7 separate regions of the Homo sapiens genome follow, and all the other regions are linked to region 6. Evidence: promoter capture Hi-C in 16 types of primary human blood cells and fetal thymus (Javierre and others, 2016). All regions are on one chromosome and are shown on one strand. Each heading gives the region's core, a stretch centred on a gene start or on the middle of the fragment in contact. The rest is flanking DNA. Distances are from core to core; before and after follow the strand shown.

The links. Contacts are between HindIII fragments. The CHiCAGO score rates a contact against its expected background, and 5 or more counts as called.
Region 1: a contact is called between a fragment that was not itself captured here and the fragment with the promoter of TRMT5 in region 6, in 1 of 17 cell types (M2 macrophages). The highest score is 5.0, in M2 macrophages.
Region 2: a contact is called between a fragment that was not itself captured here and the fragment with the promoter of TRMT5 in region 6, in 15 of 17 cell types (endothelial precursors, M2 macrophages, M1 macrophages and 12 more). The highest score is 17.6, in endothelial precursors.
Region 3: a contact is called between a fragment that was not itself captured here and the fragment with the promoter of TRMT5 in region 6, in 2 of 17 cell types (endothelial precursors and M2 macrophages). The highest score is 6.2, in endothelial precursors.
Region 4: a contact is called between a fragment that was not itself captured here and the fragment with the promoter of TRMT5 in region 6, in 13 of 17 cell types (endothelial precursors, M2 macrophages, M1 macrophages and 10 more). The highest score is 14.8, in endothelial precursors.
Region 5: a contact is called between a fragment that was not itself captured here and the fragment with the promoter of TRMT5 in region 6, in 1 of 17 cell types (endothelial precursors). The highest score is 6.0, in endothelial precursors.
Region 7: a contact is called between a fragment that was not itself captured here and the fragment with the promoter of TRMT5 in region 6, in 1 of 17 cell types (endothelial precursors). The highest score is 5.5, in endothelial precursors.

Annotation. Positions count from the first base shown.
Region 1 is chr14:61,283,075-61,286,540 of GRCh38, forward strand. It overlaps a transcript of PRKCH not described here. Among named protein-coding and RNA genes, the nearest start is that of TMEM30B, 3.5 kb to the left of the region's middle. The HindIII fragment of the contact is 1,943 bases long and covers 972-2,914 here.
Region 2 is chr14:60,628,990-60,632,478 of GRCh38, forward strand. No RefSeq gene overlaps it. Among named protein-coding and RNA genes, the nearest start is that of SALRNA1, 8.5 kb to the right of the region's middle. The HindIII fragment of the contact is 1,727 bases long and covers 1,207-2,933 here.
Region 3 is chr14:61,266,274-61,269,574 of GRCh38, forward strand. It overlaps a transcript of PRKCH not described here. Among named protein-coding and RNA genes, the nearest start is that of TMEM30B, 13 kb to the right of the region's middle. The HindIII fragment of the contact is 667 bases long and covers 1,063-1,729 here.
Region 4 is chr14:60,646,623-60,649,787 of GRCh38, forward strand. SIX1 (SIX homeobox 1) reads right to left here and starts at 2,855. Exons shown (of 2, transcript NM_005982.4): 1 at 2,008-2,855. The coding sequence starts at 2,567. It overlaps MIR9718 (microRNA 9718), which reads left to right and starts at 2,026; the gene lies at 2,026-2,089. RefSeq lists enhancers at 274-896, 897-1,518, 1,519-2,140, 2,141-2,761 and a silencer at 2,772-3,011. The HindIII fragment of the contact is 4,221 bases long and covers 1-3,165 here.
Region 5 is chr14:60,669,337-60,672,671 of GRCh38, forward strand. No RefSeq gene overlaps it. Among named protein-coding and RNA genes, the nearest start is that of SIX1, 22 kb to the left of the region's middle. The HindIII fragment of the contact is 9,505 bases long and covers 1-3,335 here.
Region 6 is chr14:60,979,797-60,982,908 of GRCh38, forward strand. It overlaps TRMT5 (tRNA methyltransferase 5), which reads right to left and starts at 1,283. Exons shown (of 5, transcript NM_020810.3): 1 at 1,167-1,283; 2 at 1-90. The coding sequence starts at 1,177. It overlaps SLC38A6 (solute carrier family 38 member 6), which reads left to right and starts at 1,449. Exons shown (of 16, transcript NM_153811.3): 1 at 1,449-1,586; 2 at 2,712-2,842. The coding sequence starts at 1,482. RefSeq lists an enhancer at 1,173-1,552. The HindIII fragment of the contact is 5,504 bases long and covers 1-3,112 here.
Region 7 is chr14:60,690,374-60,693,933 of GRCh38, forward strand. No RefSeq gene overlaps it. Among named protein-coding and RNA genes, the nearest start is that of SIX4, 32 kb to the right of the region's middle. The HindIII fragment of the contact is 2,434 bases long and covers 1,065-3,498 here.

The DNA.
Region 1 (3,466 bases), core at 693-3,192, 300 kb after region 6:
GTCCAGGCTTGTCTCAAACTCTTGAGCCCAAGAGATCCTTCTGCCTCAGCCTCCCAAATTGTTGGGATTATAGGTGTGAGCCATCACACCAAGCCTATCTGGTAAATCTTAAGTCTTTTTTCTAGTAGATCACCACCACACCCCTAAAAGGGCAAGCCCCATTCTTGAGCTCAGAGCCTTTCCTCCTTTTCTCCTATTCCTGGATGGCCTAAAGGTACTAGTTTATTCATTCCACTAATTAAGGTGACAGATTTTCAAAGTCAAAAGAGAATATTTCAAGACAAGGAATGGTCAGCAGAGTTAAACACAGCTGAGGGTTCAAGTGAGATAAATGAAAAGGAATTATGGGGTTTGACTTTTGTGGGAACACTTTGGGTGGTTTGTGTGGCAGGAATGAGGTTACCATCAGGTGCAGGGAAAGGGAAGCAGATAGCAAGATAGGAAGACACTCTTTTTTTATTTTTATTTTTATTTTTTGGAGATGAGGTCTTGCTGGGCATGGTGGCTCATGCCTATAATTCAAGCACTTCGGGAGGCCAAGGCAGGAGGATCACTTGAGCCCAGCAGTTTGAGACTAGCCTGGGCAATATAACGAGATCTTGTTTCTACAAAAAATAAAAACAAATTATCTGGGTGTGGTGGCATGTGCCTGAGGTCCCAGCTACTCAAGAGGCTGAGGTGGGAGGATAGCTTTAACCAGGGAGTTATGATTGCGCCACTGTACTCCAGCCTGGACAACAGAACAAGACCCTGTCTCAAAAAATAAAAATAAAATAAAAAAAGAGAGAATGGGGTTCTAAAGGGGAAAGCCTGTTTTTAGAAATGTGTGGAAAGGGAAGGAGAAAGGCAAGTGATAACTGTCTAGAAGAGCATGTATCCTAAAGGAAAGGCTTCTTTTTTAGATGTCAGAGAAGTGTGTATCCTGAGGGAAAAAGATAATAGTGCAGATGAGGTTGAAAAGAGGGGTGGCAAGCTTACTGATAGTGCAAAGGCAGGAGCAGGCTGGAGACGCTGATCCACCAGCCAGAGCCACTGGTTTCAGAGAACAGGTGCAGAGTTATCTCACCTCTGAAACAAGAGGGCAGGGTGATAAAAATGCCCTCTGCAGAATGCAGCTGGGTATTGGGCTCCCGCACCTCAGGCTGGGAGAAAGAAATGACTGAGTGTGACCAGCATATGGTGGTTTTCAGGGCAGATGAATTTGAAAGATAAAAAATTCAAGGTATTGCAGTCCTTGTGGAGGGGTGGCTAAAGAGATGTGCCTTAGTAGTTAATCTGAAAGGCGAAGAAAATGAAACCAACCCTGTGGATCAAAAGAAAAAGAAGATACTGGTAGATTGGCAGTCCTAATAATGTTAATTGGCAGGTGCCGTGAAAGCTGGGAGGAAAAAGTGCTGGTATGAGATGGGGTGTTAAAGATCTTGGAGGTGAAGCTGTACCAAGGTCCATGTATACACTATATTTCCCCTACCAGCTCGTAAGTTCCGAGAGGTGGAAGACTGATATAGATATACATTGTCGTGTTCCTCAGAGTTCACTATGTAAGGAAGGTTCAGATCTCATTTCTCTCATTTTATTACATATGTTGTGATGTATTAAAGGATGCTTGGATCATGTAAACTCTTTAGTACCAGTAAAATAAGAAACAAGTTCACTCTAAAATTGTTTTTTGTATCAGTGTTATTAAGAACTCAAAGGAAAAGAAAAAAGGCATTTCTAGTCCAAATACTGCTAAAATCACTTCATTTTTTCATTTTATCTCCCAGACTTTATCCATGTAAATATTTAATTTTTAATAGATTGTAATTAAGATATACACACAATTATTCTAGTTGTCAAATTACCTCATTTTGGAATGAGATGAAGATTGAAATAAATATTTTCTATGTTCCTTAATGGTGCCATAATTCATAGGTCTATCATATTTAACTATTGTTGGACATGTAGGTTATATCCAGTTTTTCAGTATTCCAAAGTATATGATAGTGACCATCTTTTCTGCATATAACCCTTTTTAAAAAAAACTATGTGTCTCCCTTTCCCCCTAACGTTTTCTTTCAGATTTTTTTCCTTGGGATAAAATTCTAAAAGTAGGAAAGGGACTTAAAGGTGAAGCTCTTTAAAAATACATACTGCTGGAGTCATATTTACACTGCCACACCAATGTATATATTTTGATACTTTCACCAAAAATTTGCCAACAAAACCAAGAGCTAAGCACAGAATATATTTAGTCTATGCCAATAAACTCTCAGATACTAGGAGAATAGTATTGGATAGGGGAAAGAATGCTGGCCGGACCTTAAGGAAGTTCAGATTCTACCCTGAAAGTTCCTTAGGATATAACTGTGTGACCTTGGTCAAATTGCTTAACTTCTCTGTTCTCATGATTGCTTATCTGTACGAACGTGTTTACCAAAATGATTGTTAGTGTGTCTTTTTTAAGCAAAGATTTCTGTTCCTAGTCTTCCTTACAATGACTCATTGAATAATAGCTAACTTTTATTGAGTACCTTCTGTGAATCAGTACTTACAGTCACTGCGTAAACACTTTATATACATTGTCCCATCTAATTTGTACACAAATGGGGGGCATTCAGTCCAATTATACTCAAAGAACTGATGCAAAACTAAGATTCAAGCCAGTGCAATGGAGGCTGCCTGAGTTCTCATAGTTGTAATGGGGAGATGAGGGATTCAAAGGGCAGCTTAATTCCAGTGTCCTGTTTCTTCAACCATGCTACACTGTAAGGCCTTGGCATATTTCCTCCTCAAAAAACTCCAAAAACGTTAACCTTGAACCAGTGTTTATTGTTGCAGATCTTCTCTTAACACCCCAAAGATAAGCAAACTCTGTTCCATTTACACAGAGTCCCAGGAACAGCTGAGTTGCTTGTATTTTTGTTTTTACAAAAGCTTTTGTTTTAAATCCAACTTTTGTTTAGCATGCTCATTTCTCTTGCTAGAATAAAAATAACTTCACTTGTCTGGCTGTTCTCAGTTTTTGCATGTAGTTCATTTAATTCATGACTATTTATCTTACTGTAACAGAACCTGGGTTTTTAATTGGCATTCCCTTATATAGGTTTATACTGCTCAAGATTGTTGCCTATTACTCTGCCCATGGGGCAGCTTTTATTTAAAAAGAATCAAATTAAATTGCTTCATAAAATTACAGCATGCGCTCAGAAAAGTTTTAAAAAAATTCTTTGTGCCTGGACTTCATTTTTTATTAAGAACTGCATCCAGCAGACTTCTGTTTCAAAAGTTATGGAGTGGTACCCCCTAGTGGAAGATGCAGAGAAACTTTAATTAACTAGCACTGTAAGCACCAGAGGCACAAAAGACAGAAGCGAATTCTCTCCACTCCCTGCCACGGTGTGTTGGTTCTTTGTCACTAACTTACTGCAAAACAGTGGTCAAAGAGAGGGTGAACTCACACCTGTAATCCCAGCACTTTGGGAGG
Region 2 (3,489 bases), core at 820-3,319, 350 kb before region 6:
ATACATTAATAGGAGAAATGTTCCTATCACTCACTGTCCCTTATACTCCTGAACATCATTCTTTCATCTATTCAAAAAGCATCCATGAAGCACCATCTAGGTATTTGGCACTGAGCTGGGCACTGGTCATACAAAGATAAATAAAGTGCACCCTCTCATATGATAGATACCCATCTTCTTCCTCTATTTATCTTCCCTCAGATGCCATCTATGCCTTAAAACTTAGACAGAATTATGGACGAGAAAATAAAGAACACAAAGGGAAATTAGGTTCAGTAATAAACAGGAGTAGGGGAATGTCCAAGAACAAAAGTTTGGAAAAATATAAAACCGATCAGACTCTCCTCAGGTGCTCCATATGGATCAGGTCTTACTAGAAATCTCTTACCTGGGAACTTTAAACAAAGGACAGTCAGCCTCTAATATCAGGATGACATCTGGCAACCTGAGAACACTCCAGAGACATTTATTCAATATTCAGAAAAGAAAACTACATGTCTAGGTTCTTTATAAATCATCAGAGTCAAGGTTTTCTTGTTGAGGGGAGGAAGAAAGAAAAAGGAATGATAATGCTACCTTCTGAAGTTGACCAAGACAAAGTCTCTAAATCATCACAAGCTGATCCTATCTAAAGTATGGACAATTTGAAAATCCATGAGATATTTTCCAGATTTTAGCCCAAGTCCTAGACCCCTTGAGGTTTAACTAATGTGCTAAACTCGAAATGATACTTGCCCCTCTAAACCCTTTCTGAACAAGACTAGAAGGGGTTTATTGAGAGCATAATTACTGCTTCTGGAAATAACACCAGAAAATGTTTTTTAAAGGATAAATACTGAGGTGTTTTGAGTGGGCATCAAAGGTGGCAGTGAACTTCTGCCAAGAACCTTAAAAGGCAACCACAATGCAGTAAACTCAGCCTGTTCTGATGGGTTATCTAGAACCTTAAATGTTTTTTTTTCTAGCCACCCTGAACTCTTAACAAGAAGATGACAAACCACAGGTTAGACAACTGCAATAAAGGATGTTATTTATTATGTACAAGTTACACTCTTAATAAATTATCTTTGCCAACATGCTGAATACAGTAAGGCATTCAGGCAGCTGGTGTACTCTTTAGCAGATCTCTAAGATATGATTCTACTAAAAATATAGAAAGAAATTTTAAAACATAAAAAGATAGAAATAGAACCCTGATGGCCTGAAAGCTTTTGTGTACCTTAACAGACCTGTAATTTACTAAGGGGTGAGGGAAAAGGTTGACTGAAGCTGCCTGCCTAATCTAGATTTACAAACTGTTTATAAAATTGGAGCAGTCAGTCCAATAAACATTATGCTTTCTGTACTGCAAATGGCCAGTTTCACTGCATTTGAAGTAGTTGTTGTTTTATGGGAATGTGATGCCAGTTTTCTATAGGCACAGCCTTAGGCATTTGGAAGAATCTAGTTTAAAAAGTGTAACCATAGTTTATACACATGCTTATACTTGTTAACCAATACAACTACAATTATTCCAAAAAGACACTGTTTATATTAGATTTGTTTTTCTGGGTTTAATACAGAGTTAAACACCAATAAATTCACTGAATGTAGTTAGATAAAAATCTTGCTCTCATTACCTTATGAACATTTACTATGGTTAACACCTTCCTGGGGTAATCTGGCAGTATTTTTGTTTGGATTTTTTTTTAATTAAAAAAAATGCTAGCAAAGGTAAAGAGTCACAGTTTAAAGACAAAGATCATTTTTCTAAATTTTTTATAATAAAAATACTTATCTCCCCCAAACATGAATGACGTATATATTAGATACAACTTAATGAAACCAGCCTACACCTTTGTTATAAAATATGTGATGTTACCATGATGCTTTTCTAGGTAATTGTACTTCCCATTTCTCAGGGACAATTTGTCTCCAAGGCTACCTGGACGGTTTTTAGTTTCCACAATCTTATCAAGAGAGATCAGGCAGGGTGATAAGGCTATCCCATATACAGTTGTATCTGGAGGCCATGGCCAAATCCTCACTGTTAGCGCTACACTTGACCCAAGAACCATTTTGTGGATTGCTCGTGAATAATATTTTTAACCATAATTCTCTACTCATTGTTAGAAAGGAGAGCTTTCTTTATATTTAACTGGTCAACTCTTTAAAATAAATGTGACCTCAACTCTATGAATTAACCAGTGGCCATGAGCAGATTCTTTCTGAGACAGCCACATTAAATCATTCTACCAGGAGGGCAGAGGCCTTTCACGATGGTGGTTTTCTAACTATTGCCAAATTCTCAAGGTAGAAAAGTGTTCCTATAAGAGTTAGAGGTACACTCCACTACCTCTTTTCCTTGCATTCACAAACAAAGACAGTACTAAGTTGGAATTCTCATGAGATGCTTACTGTTTTCAACCTTACTTTTATTATCATTGCTTGTACATACATGGCCAGCAATTTCACTTTGCCAGAGATTTCATTCTAGGCAAAATTTCTAATTTAACTGTAACACTCAGAGCATATCTAAATATTTGGATTCATTTCTGATGAAAACAAAGGGGCCAGAAGTTTAGAAGAGATCTCTGTGCTGACATGTCTGCTTTCTAGATGCAAAGCATTTGGCTCAACCAGGCAGCACAAGTTCACTCAATTATCTAATCCCTTCTAGCATTACATTTTTACTTTTTCAAATCTTTAGCTAATTATAAGCACAACTTTATCAGCAAAAGAGAGAAAACGTTTTTTCTTACCCCTTTTGATTCAACTTCATTACCAACTCCAATGTCTCCCCCCTACAAGCCTTAATTAATTACCCACTGTTGATGAATGAGTCAATGATTCAATAGTGTTTATTTCCATTAGTAAAGACAATTGCATAGAATCTACCTGGCATGGTTATGAGAATGTGTGAAAGAGGAAGATATAGGGAAAAGAAAGAGCCAAGCTTTTGAGAGATTACTAGATAGGTCAAATTGCTGAGAAAATAAGTAAGTTACAGTAATCTCTCACTTCACATACATTACCAAAAACTATGGTCCTTAGGAATTCACTGCTGGTTCTGTTTACTGTCTCCAAATAGCTGATCCAAGATAAGAAATTTTTTTCTGACATTAAGCTGATTCGTGAATGCACATTGTCTAAGATGGTACTTCATCTTAATAACCCATTGATTTCTATAAAACTCAATAATCGATTTTTTTCTTACTGAAAAAATTTACCAATCTGGTAGTCATAAAGAGATACAGTATACATATAATAGCCATCAGTATTATAGTCTCAGTAATTCACCTACACTAAGCAAGCTTATATTTTTCTTCCATAAAAAGTATTTATAAACATTATAACTTTTTGTTCAATCTTAAGAGGTTAAATCAATTAAAATATGAATAAATAGAAAGTCTTCAAAGCTTCCTCAGCCATCAGCTTAACAGCCATCCACATACACACAAAAGATACCACACTAAAATCTAGAACAGGAAGTAAAGAATAAATACCACT
Region 3 (3,301 bases), core at 146-2,645, 290 kb after region 6:
TGGGTGTGATGGCATGCACCTGTAATTCCAGCTACTCGGGAGGCTGAGGTAGGAGAATCACTTGAACCTGGGAGGCAGAGGTTGCAGTGAGCTGAGATTGTGCCACTGAACTCCAGCCTGGGCAACAGAGCGAGACTCCATCTCCAAAAATAAATAAATAAATAAATACATAAATAAAAATTATAGGTCCAGAAAGTATGTAGTGATAAATAGCCCCTGAAGCTGCATAATAAGACCATTTTTAAAAGCAAGGAACTTCTGGGAGTGCATAAAAAGTAAAATGCATTGCAGGGAAACATAGGAAAATCATTCATGAGCCTCCGAATCAGTGGCTTGACTCAGCACTGAAACATGGATCTTGAGCAAAGACAGATGGAAACTTGTTTTACGAAGGACCAGGAGAGGAATTGTCTCACGAGAATATGTAACTAGAAATGGCTTTATATGCCTGGTTCATCTATATGCTGCTAATGCACTTATTTGTGTATATTTTATGCTAATAGAGGCCCTAAAACTGATATAAGAATCTGTGTATGCTAAAAAAAATTCTGATTCCCCGAGCTTTGCTGAAACGGCGCCTAGGGAGGGAGATGAGGTGATGGGGATGGGTGATGGGAAACAAGAAACACAGTTTTTGAAGGAAAAGCAAAAACTTCATTCCTTGGGTGGGATGGTAGAGGGTGGGGTTGAAGGGAGTCTTCAACCACGCCAAGTCTAAATAGACTGGGAGGCTTTTATTTGGAACTCTCCTTTGGCAACGTTTTATCACAGCATGTTTTCCATTCTTGGCGGAGAAAAGGACCTGGAGGCTATAGAACTGGCTCAGTCTTCACTCTGACAATACGTTCACAATAATGGAAGACATCTTTTCCCTATAACTTTGAAAAACATGAAAGCAGATATTGGCTCTGAGTATGTCTGATAGTCTAACTTTATTTCCTGTCAACAGAAATAACTATGATTTATATGTGGTCATCAACTTCGCATACTCACATACAATTCAGATTGAGAGAGTACAGCGAGATGTAATGCTCGGAGCCTTGATGTATGCCTATCTAGCAAAGCTTCCCGGTTCAAGGAGACCTCAGGGACTGAGAAAGACTCTTTAATATTCTCACTCTTCTGACACTCTAGCCCCAAGTGCATCCTTCCAGTGAGGTATATTACATGGGCTTCAGACGAACTACATGTAGGCTTTGATCTCTGAGCCCCTCAGCTACCCTTCTTGTGATCCTGAAGGTTGGTTGGACTGAATCCAATAATTATAGTGAGATGCTGAAGGCTGAGGAGCTGATTCATGTTGGCATCCGGCACACTGTTTTATTCTTTTAGTATTCGTTTACATCAGAGGAGTGAGAGCATTTTAAAAATTCCATTTTCTTCTCAGAATGGATTGATAGTGCAGGCAGTGGAAATTGAGTGAATACACCTTTTCAGTTAATGCCATCTTATGTCATCTGGTTTTGAATTCAAAAGCATTTTTTCCACTGTCTTGTTGTTATGCTGTATAATTTATTGAATTTAAGATGTCGAGAATCATAAGATGCACCATTACGTTATGTACCACTAAGAAAAAAAATGCTGCCAATTAAAATATCACCTAACAATTTTTTACATTTTTTGCACTTTATCCTTATTAAAAGGGTGCTTTTATATTTGTTTAGATAGATTTTTCTTACGTATCATGCTTCTGCTGATATGAAAAGAAAAATATATTTAAAATAAACTAAGCTTTATTTTTGCTAAGATTTTCCTAAAATTCCTTCATGTTCAGAGTCCAACTCTTCGGAATCCCTTAAAGACAGAATCTTCAATGTCTATGTTATTGTACACAATGCAGTGTTTTGCCCCAAATATGACAGTACTGCACAATGACAGCTACATCCTGACCATTACCTGGCTGACAGTGAGTCTGTCTAAGTGCCAGCAATTGTAACATGCCATGGATTGTGAGAAGCCAAGACTTTGATATACATCCTGATTTTAGAAATGTTAAAATGTGGGGGGAAGTGCAGCTTAGAATGGAAGAAATATTTGTTTTGGTATTGAAGAATGGTACCAGCTTCACTTACACACAATTTTAAAATAGTTTACAAAAATTTATATTTCTGGCCGGGTGCGATGGCTCACACCTGTAATCCCAGCACTTTGGGGGGCTGAGGCAGGTGGATCACCTGAGATCAGGAGTTCGAGACCAGCCTGGCCAACTTGGTAAAACCCCGGCTCTACTAAAAACACAAAAGAATTAGGTGGGCATGGTGGTCCATGCCTGTAGTCCCAGCTACTTGGGAGACTGAGGCAGAAGAATCACTTGAACCCGGGAGGCGGAGGTTACAGAGAGCCGAGATCGTACCATTGCACTCCAACCTGGGTGACAGGGCAAGACGCTGCCCCCTGCCAAAAAATATATATATATTTCTTAGGTTCAATATCAACCTCAAAAAGTAGGCAAAGTTTAAATCATTCCCACCTAAAGCTTTTTGCTTTGATTGAATGACTGTTCCAGTACAAGCAATTCAAAGCAATTCATAGAATGCTAACTGGGCATACTTAATTTTGCTTCTGGAAAGACTCTGGAGGCTTTCTGCTCCAGAAAGAAGTGACTATTGTAAGTGTATCAGTCAGTCCATTAAGCTGTGAGTCAGTTTCATACAGTTCCTGGGAAAGGCATCTGCCAATATTTATTGGTCTTCCACTTAAAAAGAAAAATATAGTTTCAAATATAAAAAGACATATTCTTCCTATTTGGCAAAGACATTTGGTGAAAAGAAAAAAAGTGGCAGTCTTTTCCATTTTTTGTGCCTATGCTTATGACAAAGTAAATGACGTGTACTTTTCCAAAGTTAGAGCCAAAAATTTTTTCTTTATGACATAGTTGTAAAACTAACATATTTGTGAAAAAGTTTTTTTAGAGAAAAAAGAAATTTGTAGTAACCACTAGAATCATATTGCAGAAAATATTATTTGAATAAAAATTAATGATAAATTTTTTGATCACTTAATCATAATGTATAGAAAGTCACAAAATTGTCATAAAATTTATAAACATCCAAACTTTATTTACTCCCAGGAATTTTAATTAATTAATTAATTTTTATTTAAGTTTTAAGTTCAGGGGTACACGTGCAGGTTTGTTACATAGGTAAACTCACGTTATGGGGTTTGTTGTACAGATTATTTCATCACCCAATTATTAAGCCTAGTATCCATTGGCTATTTTTCCTGATCCTCTCCCTCCTCCCAACCTCCACCCTCTCATGGGCCCCAGGGTGCGTTGTTCCCCTCTATGCGTCCATGTGTT
Region 4 (3,165 bases), core at 337-2,836, 330 kb before region 6:
AAAAAAAAGTAGGTTAAAAAAAAAGTGTGAGATGGAGGGAGGGGAGCTGGAAGGAGGAAAGGGCCATTGTGCAATCTGTCACCAACCCAAATGGAGGAGCTCTACCCTTCCACCCATCCCCAAGGGTAATGGGGGAGGTGAGGAGTCAGAGGAACCTGGAGAAATGGAGAGCTACGGACAGAGCCTCCTGTTAGGAGCCAGGTCCTTTTCTCTTCCAGATTTCAGAAAGTGATAGATTAGCAGGATTTATTTGAAACATACAAAATATATGTTTTAAATTTTGTTCAAGCAGTTACATTTAAATACATATAAACTAGCAACATATTTAAATGTAACTGAAAATCTTTCAATAAATAGATATTGGTGATAAAGAAATGATAGAGGACAGAGTCCAATGCACAAATGTTTGGGGTGAATCAAGTCCATTGCCTTGTTCGCATATGAGGAGACAATTAAACATCCCGTTTTCCTGCCCCAGCCCAGAGTTGGTGGTTTTGCAGACACAGAACAGGTCATGGGAAGTGGTGCCCAGCGCGGCCCAGTGACCTGAGTAAACACAGGGAGCGCAGCCAGTCTCTGATTTCATCTGGAGTCGGCCCTCGGGCCTGGCTTATAGGACGGCCGTTTTGTAACTAAAGGCTAACTGCAACCATACAATCCCTGTTCCTGTGTTACTTGCTAACTCTTCAGCCCCTCGTGTCCCCCTCTCAAACTTCCTACCAACACCCACCCCAACCCATCCTTTCTGGGCAGGGGAAACTTCGCCGCCCCGCACAGGCTGCCAGCGGGCGCGGCGCGCTGGGGCGTCAGTCCGGGCACTCGGTACCGGTTAACTTCAGGATTTCGCTTCCCTCGCCGCTTCCGCCTTCCGAGTGCTCGTCAGTCCTCCCGACTCCTAGCGCCTGTCTGTCTCCTTTCTTTCCCCTTATCCTCACAGTCTCTGTCTCCCGACAAGCCCATTTCAGCAGAATTTATCCTGGCTCTGGTTTTCCACCAAGACAAGAAAGGGAGCAAGATCTTCGGCCCCTAGTCTTGGAAGCGAACAAAGGAAAACCTAACCGGCCCCTGCGCTCAGGTTTTCCCCCAAACTCTTTGGCTTCGCGGAGCGCTCTCCCCGCCACAGCCACCTCCCCACCGTCCTTCTGAATCTCTGTCCGAAACGCTATAGAGAACAGAAGGAGCCTGCCCAGGTGGCCGAAGGTGTTGCCCCGAGGTGGGGGAAAGTAGAGACCAATTTTTAAAATATTGCCTTGTGAGCTCCAGTGCGAGAGAGGGCTGCGACTGGAGACCCTTTCCTCGTCTGGGCATGCGGCGCGGTCAGCCAGACCGACGGGCTGCAGTGCCGGGCCACGCGCGAGCGAGCACGGCGAGGATCAACCCTTTCTTAATTTGGGGCGCCGGGGAGTAAATGCAGCGCCAACTCTCCCCAAAGCTCTCTTTTTGTTGTATCTTTAAAAGTCTCCTCCATTTGTCCAGCTAGTGAGAAATGAAGCAGGCTACCTCTAAACCAAAAGACTATCAAGAGAGAGCTGTGGAGAACCAGGCGGGAGTGGGGGCAGAGCCAATGTCTCAGGCCAGCTTCACCCCTCTGGGGAGCAAGAGGAGAGAGGTTCGCGAACCTCAGCTCCCACCAAACCCCTTTCCTTGCGACACCAATCAACATTTCACTGCCCGTTGATTTAGAAACTCACTCTCCACCCACCACTCATAGCCGCGGCCAGCCAGGGAGGCATAAAGACCAAATCTAGCGCCAATATTTCCCGACACTCACATCCCAGAGAAACCCACGCGCGGGTGCTCAAAGCAAATGAGGCCCCATCCTTAGCAAGGAACCTCAGAGTTCATGAACTTTCGCTGCAGCGCCGCGGAGGGCCTGCGCGCCGCCCCGTGGACGGGCTCCGGCCGGCGGGGAGGACTTGGTGGCTGGTGCCTGCGGGGGCGGGAGGGGGCGGAGGAGAAAGGACGGCTTCCTAGGGTCGCCCGAGTCGCGGGAAGCACGCCGCGTACCTTTCCTTGGCCTCCGCGGCCCGGTCTCTTTGCCTCCGGTTCTTAAACCAGTTGCTGACCTGGGTGGTGGTGAGGCCGGTGGCCTCGGCCAGCTCCCGCTTCTCACGCGGCGATGGGTAGGGATTGTGCGCGTACCACTCCCGCAGGACACCCCTCGACTTCTCCTTGAAGCAGTAGCTGGTCTCCTCGCCGTCCCAGATGGTGCGCGGCAGTGGAAATTTTCGGCGCACCCGATATTTGCCCACGGCGCCCAGGGGTCGGCCGCGCAGCTTCTCGGCCTCCACGTAATGCGCCTTCAGCCACAGTTGCTGCAGTTTGGGGTGGTTGTGAGGCGAGAACTGGTGGCTCTCCAGGATCTTGTAGAGCTCACGGAAGTTGCCGCGGTGGAAGGCGACCACCGCCTTGGCCTTGAGTACGCTCTCGTTCTTGTGCAGGTGGTCGCAGGCGGGCAGTGACCACAGGAACCTGCCCAGGCGCTCCAGGTTTCCGCCTTGCTGCAGAACCTCGCACACGCACGCCACTTGCTCCTGCGTAAAGCCAAACGACGGCAGCATCGACATGGCTGGGGCCTGCCGGGGCGCACGGCCCAGGCGCACGCGGCAGGGAGCAGAGCCGAGAGGCAGGGGGCGGCGGCCGCAGGGAGGGGGGCGCGGCTGTTCCTAACCTCCTCCTTAGGCTTTGCAAAGGCGAAAACCGGAGTCGGAACTTGGCGGTGGGCGGCCAAGGAAGAGAAGGCGGAGGAGTAGGGGAGGTTCTGGACACGGAACGGCCGGCGCACTCAGTAGCCTTTAAGGCCTTGCTGCCTCCGACCTCCCGCCCGGTGGATGCTGCTAGTTGCCGGGGAACTTGGTTTCTGTTCTCCCCGCAGCGGCCTTAAAGCGCGCAGCGTCCCCGGCACGCTGATTGGCTGCCGGCGGCGCCTATCCGGGGCTGGCCAGCCAGCGCGCCGCCCGGCTGGGCAGAGAGGCCGCACCGCCCAGAGCGGGGAGGGCGAGGCTGCGGAGCTGGGGGTTGGGGGTGTTGCCGGGGCTGCGCGGGTAGGGAGTGGTGGGAGGAGAAGGAAGAGGAAAGGTGGGAAGCCAGTTGGGGTCTGAGGGAGCTGCGCTGCGGAGGTGTGGGGAGGTAGGGAGTGGGTGAGCGCGTCAGGACCCTGCAACG
Region 5 (3,335 bases), core at 456-2,955, 310 kb before region 6:
AGTAAACAAAAAACTTTTTATTTCCATGAAGTCCAATTATGTTTTTATTCTTGTATGGTTATTGTCTTTTTATCCTGTTTAAGAAATCTTTGCCTACCCTAAAATCATGAAGATTCTCTCCTATTTTTTTCTAGAAGTTTGATTTTTTTAATTTGATATTTATATTTTTGAGCAATCTTGAATAATTTTTGTATATGGTATAAGGTGGAGGTCAAATCTATTAGTTCATTTTCATGCTGCTGATAAAGACATACCTGAAACTGGGAACAAAAGGAGGTATAATTGGACTTACAGTTCCACATGGCTGAGGAGGCCTCAGAATCATGGTAGGAGACGAAAGTCACTTCTTAAATGGTAGCAGTAAGAGAAAAATGAGGAAGAAGCAAAAGTGGAAACCCTTGATAAACCCATCAGATCTCCTGAGACTTACTATCACAAGAATAGTATGGGAAACACCAGCCCCCATGATTCAATTACCTCCCCCTGGGTCCCTCCCACAACATGTAGGAATTCTGGGAGATACAATTCAACTTGAGATTTGGGTGGGGACACAGCCAAACCATATCACCAACTTTGTGTTATTTTTCTCCATCTGGATATCCAAGAGTTCTAGCCTCATATGCTGAAAAAAACCTGTACTTTCTGTTTTCTTTTCCTTTTTTTTTTTTTTTTTTTTTGAGATGAAGTCTTGCTCTGTCTCCAGGCTGCAGTGCAGTGGCGTGATTTCAGTTACTGCAGCCTCCACGTCCCAGGTTCAAGTGATTCCTCTGCCTCAGCCTCCCGAGTAGCTGGGACTATGGGCGTGCGCCACCACACCTGGGTAATTTTTTGTATTTTAGTAGAGACAGGGTTTCACCATCTTGGCCAGGATGGTCTCAATCTCCTGACCTCCTGATCCACCCACCTTGGCCTCCCAAAGTGCTGGGATTACAGGCGTGAGCCACCGCACCATGCCAAAACCTGTACTTTCTACCACAGAATTGCAGTGGCCCCTCAGAGGAAAAGCATTCAATGGTTCGCCATTACATATGTCAGCCATAGTTTCTGGGCTTTCTGCAGATAGCTGTTGTCAGATTAAAAAAATTCCCTTCTATTCTTAATTTGCTGAGCTTTTTTTTCCTGAGTGGGTGTTATATTTTATCAAATGCTTTTTCTGTATTGATTAAGATAATTATATGGTTTTCTTTGATAAACCATAGTTGGTAATGATGTGCTATCTTTTTTATTTCTCTGTATTCAACTTGCTAATGTTGTATTTATAATTTTTACAATAAAATGTATTATGATTTTCTGATATATAACGTATTATTTATATTTTTCTAAAGCATATTAATAATCCTTTCCATATGCAGAAAAGATTTTTGTTTTGGCATCAAATTTATGTTAGCCATAATAAAATATGTTAGCCACAAAAACAGTGTTCTCTTTTTCTCTAATCTCTGAAAGGGTTTGAGAAAGATTGTCATTATTCCTTCTTAAATATTTGGAAGAAGTCACCTTTGAAGACATCTGGGCCTGGATTATCTTTGTGAAATTAAAAAAACATAAATTTCCTTCTAAGCACTGTTTAAGCTATATTCCACAAATTTTGATGTTTTATTTTCATTATTCTTCGATTCAAAGTATTTTCTAGTTTTGTTTGTGATTTATTCTTTGGCCCGCAGGTCATTTGGAAGTATGTTCCTTAATTTTTATACATTTTGGAATTTTCTACTTATCCATCTGTATTGGTTTCTGGTGGTCAGTGAATATACTGTATATTATTTCAGTACTTTGAAATTTTTTAAGACTTGCTTTATGCCCCAGCATGTGGTCTATCTTTGGTATGTGCTTGAAAAGAATGCGTATTCTGCAGTTGCTGGGTATAGTGTTCTATAAATATCAATTAGGTCAAGTTGCTTAATAGTGTTGTTTAAATATATCTGTATTGACTTTTTGGTCTTCTTGTTTTTAACAGTTACTAAGAGATGTCTGTTAAAACCAATTAAGGCCAGGCTTGATGGTTCAAGCCTGTAAACCTAACACTTTGGGAGGCCGAGGTGGGCAGATCACTTGAGGTCAGGAGTTCGAGACCAGCCTGGCCAACATGGAGAAACCCCATCTCTACTAAAAAAAAAAAAAAAAAACGCCAGGCGCGGTGGCTCATGCCTATAATCCCAGCACTTTGGGAGGCTGAGGCAGGCAGATCACAAGTTCAAGAGTTCGAGACCAGCCTGGCCAACATGGTGAAACCCCGTCTCTACTAAAAATACAAAAATTAGCAGGGCTTGGTGGTGCACGCCTGTAATCCCAGCTACCTGGGAGGCTGAGGCAAGAGAATCACTTGAAGCTGGGAGGTGGAGGTTGCGGTGAGCCAAGATCTCGCCATTGCACTCCAGCCTGTGCAATAGAGTGAGACACCATCTGAAAAAAACAGAAACAAAAATTAGCCAGGCGTGGTGGTGGGCACCTGTAATCCCAGCTACTCGGGAGGCTGAGGGAGAAGAATCGCTTGAATCTGGGAGGTGAAGGTTGCAGTGAGCCAAGATCCCACCACTGCACTCCAGCCTGGGCGACAAAAAAACCTCCAATTATGATTGTGAATTTGTCTATTTCTCCTTTTAGTTCAGCTCATATATTTTAAAGTTATGTTATTATGTCCAGACAAATTTAGAATTGTTGGGTCTTCCTATTGAAGCAAACCTTTTTAGTATTATGAAATGTTCTTTCTTATCTCTAGTAATACTTCTTGCCTGAAAGTATACTTTGTCTCATAAATATGGTCATATCAGTTTTCTTTTCTTTCTTTCTTTCTTTTTTTTTTTTTTTTTTTTTTTAGACAGAGTCTCACTCTGTCACCCAGGCTGCAGTGCATGATCTCAACTCACTGCAACCTCCGCCTCCTGGGTTCGAGCAATTCTCCTGCCTCAGCCTCCCGAGTAGCTGGAATTACAGGCGCATGCCACCGCAACCAGCTAATTTCTGTATTTTTAGTAGAGATGGGGTTTCACCATGTTGGCCAAGCTGGTCTCAAACACATTACCTCAAGTGATCCACCAACCTGGGCCTCTCAAAGTGCTGGGATTACAGGTGCGCGCCACTGCACCCTGCACCTGGCCTCCAGCTTTCTTTTTTTCTTTTCTTTTTTTATTTTTGAGACGGAGTCTTGCTCTGTAGCCCAGGCTGGAGTGCAGTGGCGTGATCTCGGCTCACTGCAAGCTCCACCTCCCTGGTTCACGCCATTCTCCTGCCTCAGCCTCCCTAGTAGCTGGGACTACAGGTGGCCGCCACCACGCCCGGCTAATTTTTTGTATTTTTTAGTAGAGACGGAGTGTCACTGTGTTAGCCAGGATGGT
Region 6 (3,112 bases), core at 33-2,532:
GCTACTGGAATCAACGATTTTGATTCAGTTATGCTATGGCTTTCCAGTTTCAGAAATCTTCCTGAGAATCCAAATGGCCTCCATAAGATCCTTAAAAAAAAAAAAAAAAAATTCACACACGACAGCTTTTGAGAATAAAAATCTAAATTCTACTATCTCAAATAACGGGCTAAATGCTGACAAATAAAACGTTTAGTGATGTGTGGGAAGTATACTATCTTTTCCAGACTAGGATGACTTCTTCAGGAAGTCGTATTAGTGGTAGATAATAGTGGTATATATTAAATTTACACCTTCAACCCATCTGCTCCCAGTTCAGAGGGCTTAGTGATCCATTAGCCATACTCAATGATCCTCTTCACCCACAATTTTCTAGATAATACATTTGGGATTGGAAGACTGAAGTATGAGTTAAATGGTCATCTGTAAATGAAATAGTCATTATACATGACCATTACTAGTGGTGATATTTATTAGGATAGTCTCATGGGTGCTTATTGTGTCAGATACTGCGCTAAATGCTTTATGTACATTATGAATCTTGGGAGGTGTGCAGTATTGCACCCTCATTTTGTAAATAAGTAAACTAAAGCTCAGACGTAAGGTAACCCACCCAAAGTCTCCCAGCTGATAAGTGGCTAAACATGGATTAAAACCTAGTTTTGACTGACTTCGGTGCTTGTGTTCTTAATATATTGCTCTGTTGTTTGTTTTCGATGCTTTACTGCCACATGTCCTGCCTTTAACTAGAGGCTTCTGTATTTTGAGGACGAGAGCTTTGCTGATTGTTATATGCATAGTATCAGTTATTCACTGTCTTCTAAAATACCAAAGAATTTACTTGTAAGGGGAAAGGGCCCTGTCCCAGAATCCTGTAAAGCAACGAAGTCTAACTTCACCGTCAGAGATCAAATTGGTTCTAGCAGCTGACCAGCTGGGTGACCCTGGATAAATTACTATAAGTCTCGGTTTTCCCACCAGTAAAATGTGGCGAAAGGCTTTTGAAACATTCCTTACTATCCAGAACCTCGAAACTAAGCTCAGCACCTAGGCGGGTGGGTGACCTCGCGATGTTTCTGTGCCCAGGCAGCACATGGCAGAGAGCAGCCCTGGGCGGGCTGGTACCTCCCCTGGACCATTAGCCCCTAACGCGGCCGCCACCTCACCAAAGCACCATTCCAATTCCCCACGTCGCTCTGCAGCTGGATCCGCGAGCCGACCCCTCACCTCCCGCTCCGGTACCGATCGGATGTGGGTCGCGGGTGGATGGGCGGGTCTTCTATGACATCATCACTGTTCGCCGCGAAGAGGGCGCGCGTCATCAGATCAAGTCGACTCGCTCCTCTCCTTCCAGGCCCTGGTGAAGTACGGAATGCCGGAAGGGCCGGGCTCAAAGCTCCGCCTCTGGCGCGACCGACGACTGGAGCGCAGGGCAGGGGTAGAGGCTCGTAGATGGAACTGGTAGTCAGCTGGAGAGCAGCATGGAGGCGTCCTGGGGGAGCTTCAACGCTGAGCGGGGCTGGTATGTCTCTGTCCAGCAGCCTGAAGAAGCGGAGGCCGAAGAGTTGAGTCCGTTGCTAAGCAACGTAAGTGGGCTGTGTTCGCTTCCCCGCGCTGACGCCCTCCGGCTTCCCTCAAGTGCCTGCCAAATAAGACCCAGAAAAGGAGGACCGCACCGGGACAGGGGAGATGCTGGAGCCTGAACCCTGGGGGATGGGGTCTGAAGGCAGCCGCCGAGATTCAGATGAGATTGGCGCAGTTATGAACGTGATAGCAGCCTAGCATACTCTAGAAAGAAAAGATGAAAAGCGTCGGGTGGAAGAGATGCAGCGTTGAGTGGAAGCTGCGAACATGATGGGATGAGCGGCCCTAGGATTATGTACTCACTGCTGTTAGTTAGTATTTTTGTCACCTTATTTTCTCCACCAGTCTCGTGAGGTCTTTGCAAGAGTCACAGGATTTTCCTCTTCCGACTTAGTCATGGGGGGAGGGAAAATAATAAACATTTTAATACAGAAATTCTTAGCGGTAGAATGGAAGTGGCTTGGTAGTAAGTGCATAGCACGTTCCTGACCCTAAAGCCTGTGCAGTGGGCACTCCGCTTTTTAACTCGAGTCCTAGACACTGTTCCCAGGACTTTGTTCCCGGTGCTGTTTGTGGGGAGGGGGATGTTTTCAGGGATACTGCCAGAACAACGTGAATTGCTTCTGTTTATAATATTGTCATTGCAAGATATTCCTGACCATCCTTCCAGTTTGGTAGAACTAATTCATTAGATATATAAGTAGAGATTAGTTGTGCAGTCCTAGTAATTGAGGAGAAACAACTGCCCACAGCAGTCCCAGGTTGACTCAGCAATTCTTTAGTAATCACATGAGCTGAGGCCTTATCCCTCCTCTCTCTCCCCACTCCATTCCCATCCTATCTTCATCTCTTGCAGTCACAAGGTTAGTCATGGCCCTTCCTGAACTCTGCCTGTCTTGTGTACTGGTGGAAATCATTTTCCTAAGAAACCCTAGATTCCTGGAGCTGCAGTAGTGGGAGGTGGGAAGGAAAGGAAAGGAAATTAGTGTTGGTTAAGCAACGAGTGTGTCATACAAACCCTGGTGGTTTGCAGCTTTTTTCCATAATCTTTCATTTATGGAATTTCTTTACGAAATTTTAACTTCACCGTCCAAACATTTAACACTACTAAATTTGTGTGCTTACAGGAACTTCACAGACAGCGATCCCCAGGTGTTTCATTTGGTTTATCAGTGTTTAATTTGATGAATGCCATCATGGGAAGTGGCATCCTTGGCTTAGCTTATGTTTTGGCTAATACCGGTGTCTTTGGATTTAGGTGAGTCTTCATATTTTAGCATCAAATTTTTTTTTCCATTTTGATAATATACGGAGAAGTAGAGAGATAGATTCCAGAAGCTGCTATTATACAATTTCTAGTTAGTTATTTCTGGGGTTTTAGCATTTTTCTTGTTATTCTTGTTGCTAGTGTGTACCTTGGAGGGCTACTACATAGCTTCTTAAATACACAGAAGTGTGACTAGTTTTTAAAAATGGGAACTTGATCCACATTTCATTTATAATGAAATATGACACTTAAGAGTGGCAT
Region 7 (3,560 bases), core at 1,032-3,531, 290 kb before region 6:
CTCCTGTCTCAGCCTCCCGAGTAGCTGGGAGTACAGACGCGTGCCACCACGCCCAGCTAACTTTTTGTATTTTTAGTAGAGATGGGGTTTCACCATGTTAGCCAGGATGGTCTTGATCTCCTGACCGCGTAATCTGCCCGCCTCAGCCTCCCAAAGTGCTGGGATTATAGGCATGAGCCACCGCACCTGGCTGCATTTTTATTTTGATAGGCAATTTCAAATGTCTCTACAATGGTTATTCCAAACAGACTCCCATCAGTAATGTGTGAAAGAGTATGCTTCCTGATACCCTCATCAAGATAATGTATTAACAAATTTTTATATCTTTGCTCATATGATTAGCAAAAACTTGTTTGTTTTTGTAGTTGTAATTTTAAAAACTACCTTTGGGAAAAGTTGTGCCAATTTATACTTCCATCTGTAATATGTAAAATCGTCTGCCTTATTGCACATACATCAGCATTAAGCATCATCATTATTTTAAATCTTTACTAATTTAGTAGGAGATAATAGTATCTAATTTTAAAATATTGCTTCTTATTCATTCATGGAATATTTATTTCCCAAGTACCTATAGTGTGAGACATTGCTCTGACAACAATGGTAAGACACTATCCTTATGGAGCTTATAATTCGTTGATTACGAATAAGTCTAAATTTTTTTTAAATGAGCAGTTTCGGAGCCAGGCACAATGATGCACACCTGTAGTGCCAGCTACTCAGGAAGCTAAGGTGGCATCCCTTGAGCTAGGAGTTCGAGGCTGTGGTGTGCCATGATTAGGCCTGTAAATGATCACTGCAGTCCAGTCTGGGCAGTATAGTGTGTTCCATCTCTTAAAAAACAAACAAACAAAAAAAAAACAGCTTTTGAGTTTCATTTTAAACTGAGAATTGTACATTGCCTCAAACTTTTTAAGGAGATACAAGATGATGATAATTTAAAGATGATATTTATCATCCTGATTCAAAGAGAGATCTATAGACATCTCCAATGAAAAATTGGCATTTCGTCTTTCATTTATATGACTACTTGCATTCTGTTATCCAGACGAGAGAGCTCCATAAGCTTCAAGGAAGTAGGCCAAATACAGTGGCAGGTTACTCATTGACCATTGCCCTTGACCCCAGTGTCTATGGTCCAAGGCAGATTACTCATTGACCATCGCCCCCCACGCCAGTGTCTATGGTTCCTTTTTCCTTTTTGGAATATAATTTCCCCACCTTTTAGTAGGGGATATGGCTACTCACCTAGAGACTACAATTCCCTTGGAGCTAGGTGTGGACATGTGACTAGCCAATGATATGTAAGAAGTGATTTAAGCAATATCTTGATTATTTCTTAAAGAAATAATTTCTGCTGGGCATGGTGGCTCATGCCCATAATCACAGCACTTTGGGAGGCCAAGGTGAGTGGATTGCCTGAGCTCAGGAGTTTGTGACAAGCCTGGGTAATGTGGTGAAACCCCATCTCTACAAAAAATACAAAAGATTAGTGTGTGTGGTGGTGAGTGTCTGTAGTCCCAGCTACTTGGGAGGCTGAGGTGGGAGGATCCCTTGAGCCCAGGAGGTGGAGGCTACAGAGCTGAGAACATACCACTGCACTGCAGCCTGGGTGACAGTGAGACTCCATCTCAAAAATAAATAAATAAAAAAAGAGATAGCTTCTACTCTAGAAATGACAGGGAGTGAAAATCAATGTTGAGGGGCACAGAGACCAACTGCCTGCCTGGGATCCTGGATGGCCTGATAGAGCAGAGGTATCTTGTCAACCTAGGCTACTCACCTTTGGGCAGTCACTTGAGATAAATAAACCTCTATCTTATTGAAGTCACTGTAATTTTGGGCCTCTACAACAGCAGATAGGCATGTATACTAACTGATATGCTTACATAATGTGATATGATATGAAAGGTACTACAGAAGCCCAGAATATCTGTTCTACTGGCCTATATAATGTATGAAATGTCCTCATTAGAGAGTCCTCCCTCTGAGTTAACGCAGTGTTTCACAAAATATGTGCTGCTGAACACCAGTTTATCAGATAATTACAGATACTGAGATATGCTAGAATAAAAGGGCTAGTGGCCGGGTGCGGTGGCTCACACCTGTAATCCCAGCACTTTGGGAGGCTGAGATGGGCAGATCATCTGAGGTCAGGAGTTCAGCCTGACCAACATGGTGAAACCCTGTCTCTACTAAAAAATACAAAAAATTAGCTGGGCGTGGTGGCGGGTGCCTGTAATCCCAGCTACTTGGGAGGCTGAGGCAGGAGAATCTCTTGAACCTGGGAGGTGGAGGTTGTAGTGAGCCGAGATCGCGTCATTGCACTCCAACCTGGGCAACAAGAGAAACTCCGTCTCAAAAAAAAAAAAAAAAAAAAAAAAAGAATAAAAGGGCTAGTGTCCAATTACCCAATTACATTTCAGACATGCAGAGTCATATCACGTTTTTTGGCCTGTCTTTTATTTTATTTCATTTTTAAATTGACAAATAATAATTGCACATATTCATAGGGGACATAGTGATGTTTCGATGTATGTAATGTATAGTGATCAAATCAAGGTAACTAGCACAGCCATCATCTCAAACATTTATCATTTTTTTGTGTTGGGAACATTTGATATCCTCCTACCTAGTTGAACTATATATTATCGTTAATGATAGTCATCCTATGGTGGCATAAAACACTAGAACTTATTCCTTTTTTTTTTTTTTGAGACGGAGTCTCGTTCTGTTGCCCAGGCTGGAGTGCAGTGGTGCAATCTCAGCTCACTGCAACCTCTGCCTACCGGGTTCAAGTGATTCTCTTGCCTCAGCCTCCCAAGTAGCTGGGACTACAGGCACGCGCCACCACACCCGGCTAATTTTATATTTTTAGTAAAGTTAGAGTTTCACCATATTGGCCAGGCTGGTCTCAAACTCCTGACCTTGTAATCCACCCGTCTCTGCCTCCTAAAGTGCTGGGATTACAGGCATGAGCCACCGCACCTGGCCAGGAACTTATTCCTTTCATCTAGCTATAATTTTGCATCCTTTAACAAAAATTTATTTCAACACTGTCTTTACTAAAAATATAAAATTAGCCGGGTGTGGTGGCATGTGCCTGTAGTCCCAGCTACTTGGGAGGCTGAGGCAAGAGAATCACTTGAACCCGGTAGGCGGAGGTTGCAGTGAGCCGAGATTGCACCACTGCACTCCAGCCTGGGCAACAGAACGAGACTCTGTCTCAAAAAAAAAAAAAAGGAATAAGTTCTAGTGTTTTATGCCACCATAGGATGACTATCATTAACGATAATATATAGTTCAACTAGGTAGGAGGATATCAAATGTTCCCAACACAAAAAAATGATAAATGTTTGAGATGATGGCTGTGCTAGTTACCTTGATTTGATCACTATACATTACATATATCGAAACATCACTATGTACATTCCCGTCCTCTTCCCAGCCTCTAGTATTGTCTGTTCTACTTTTTACTTCCATGAGATCATTTTTTTAAGCTTCCACACTTGAGTGATAACATGGTGTCTAACATTCTGATCCTGGCTTATTTCATGTAA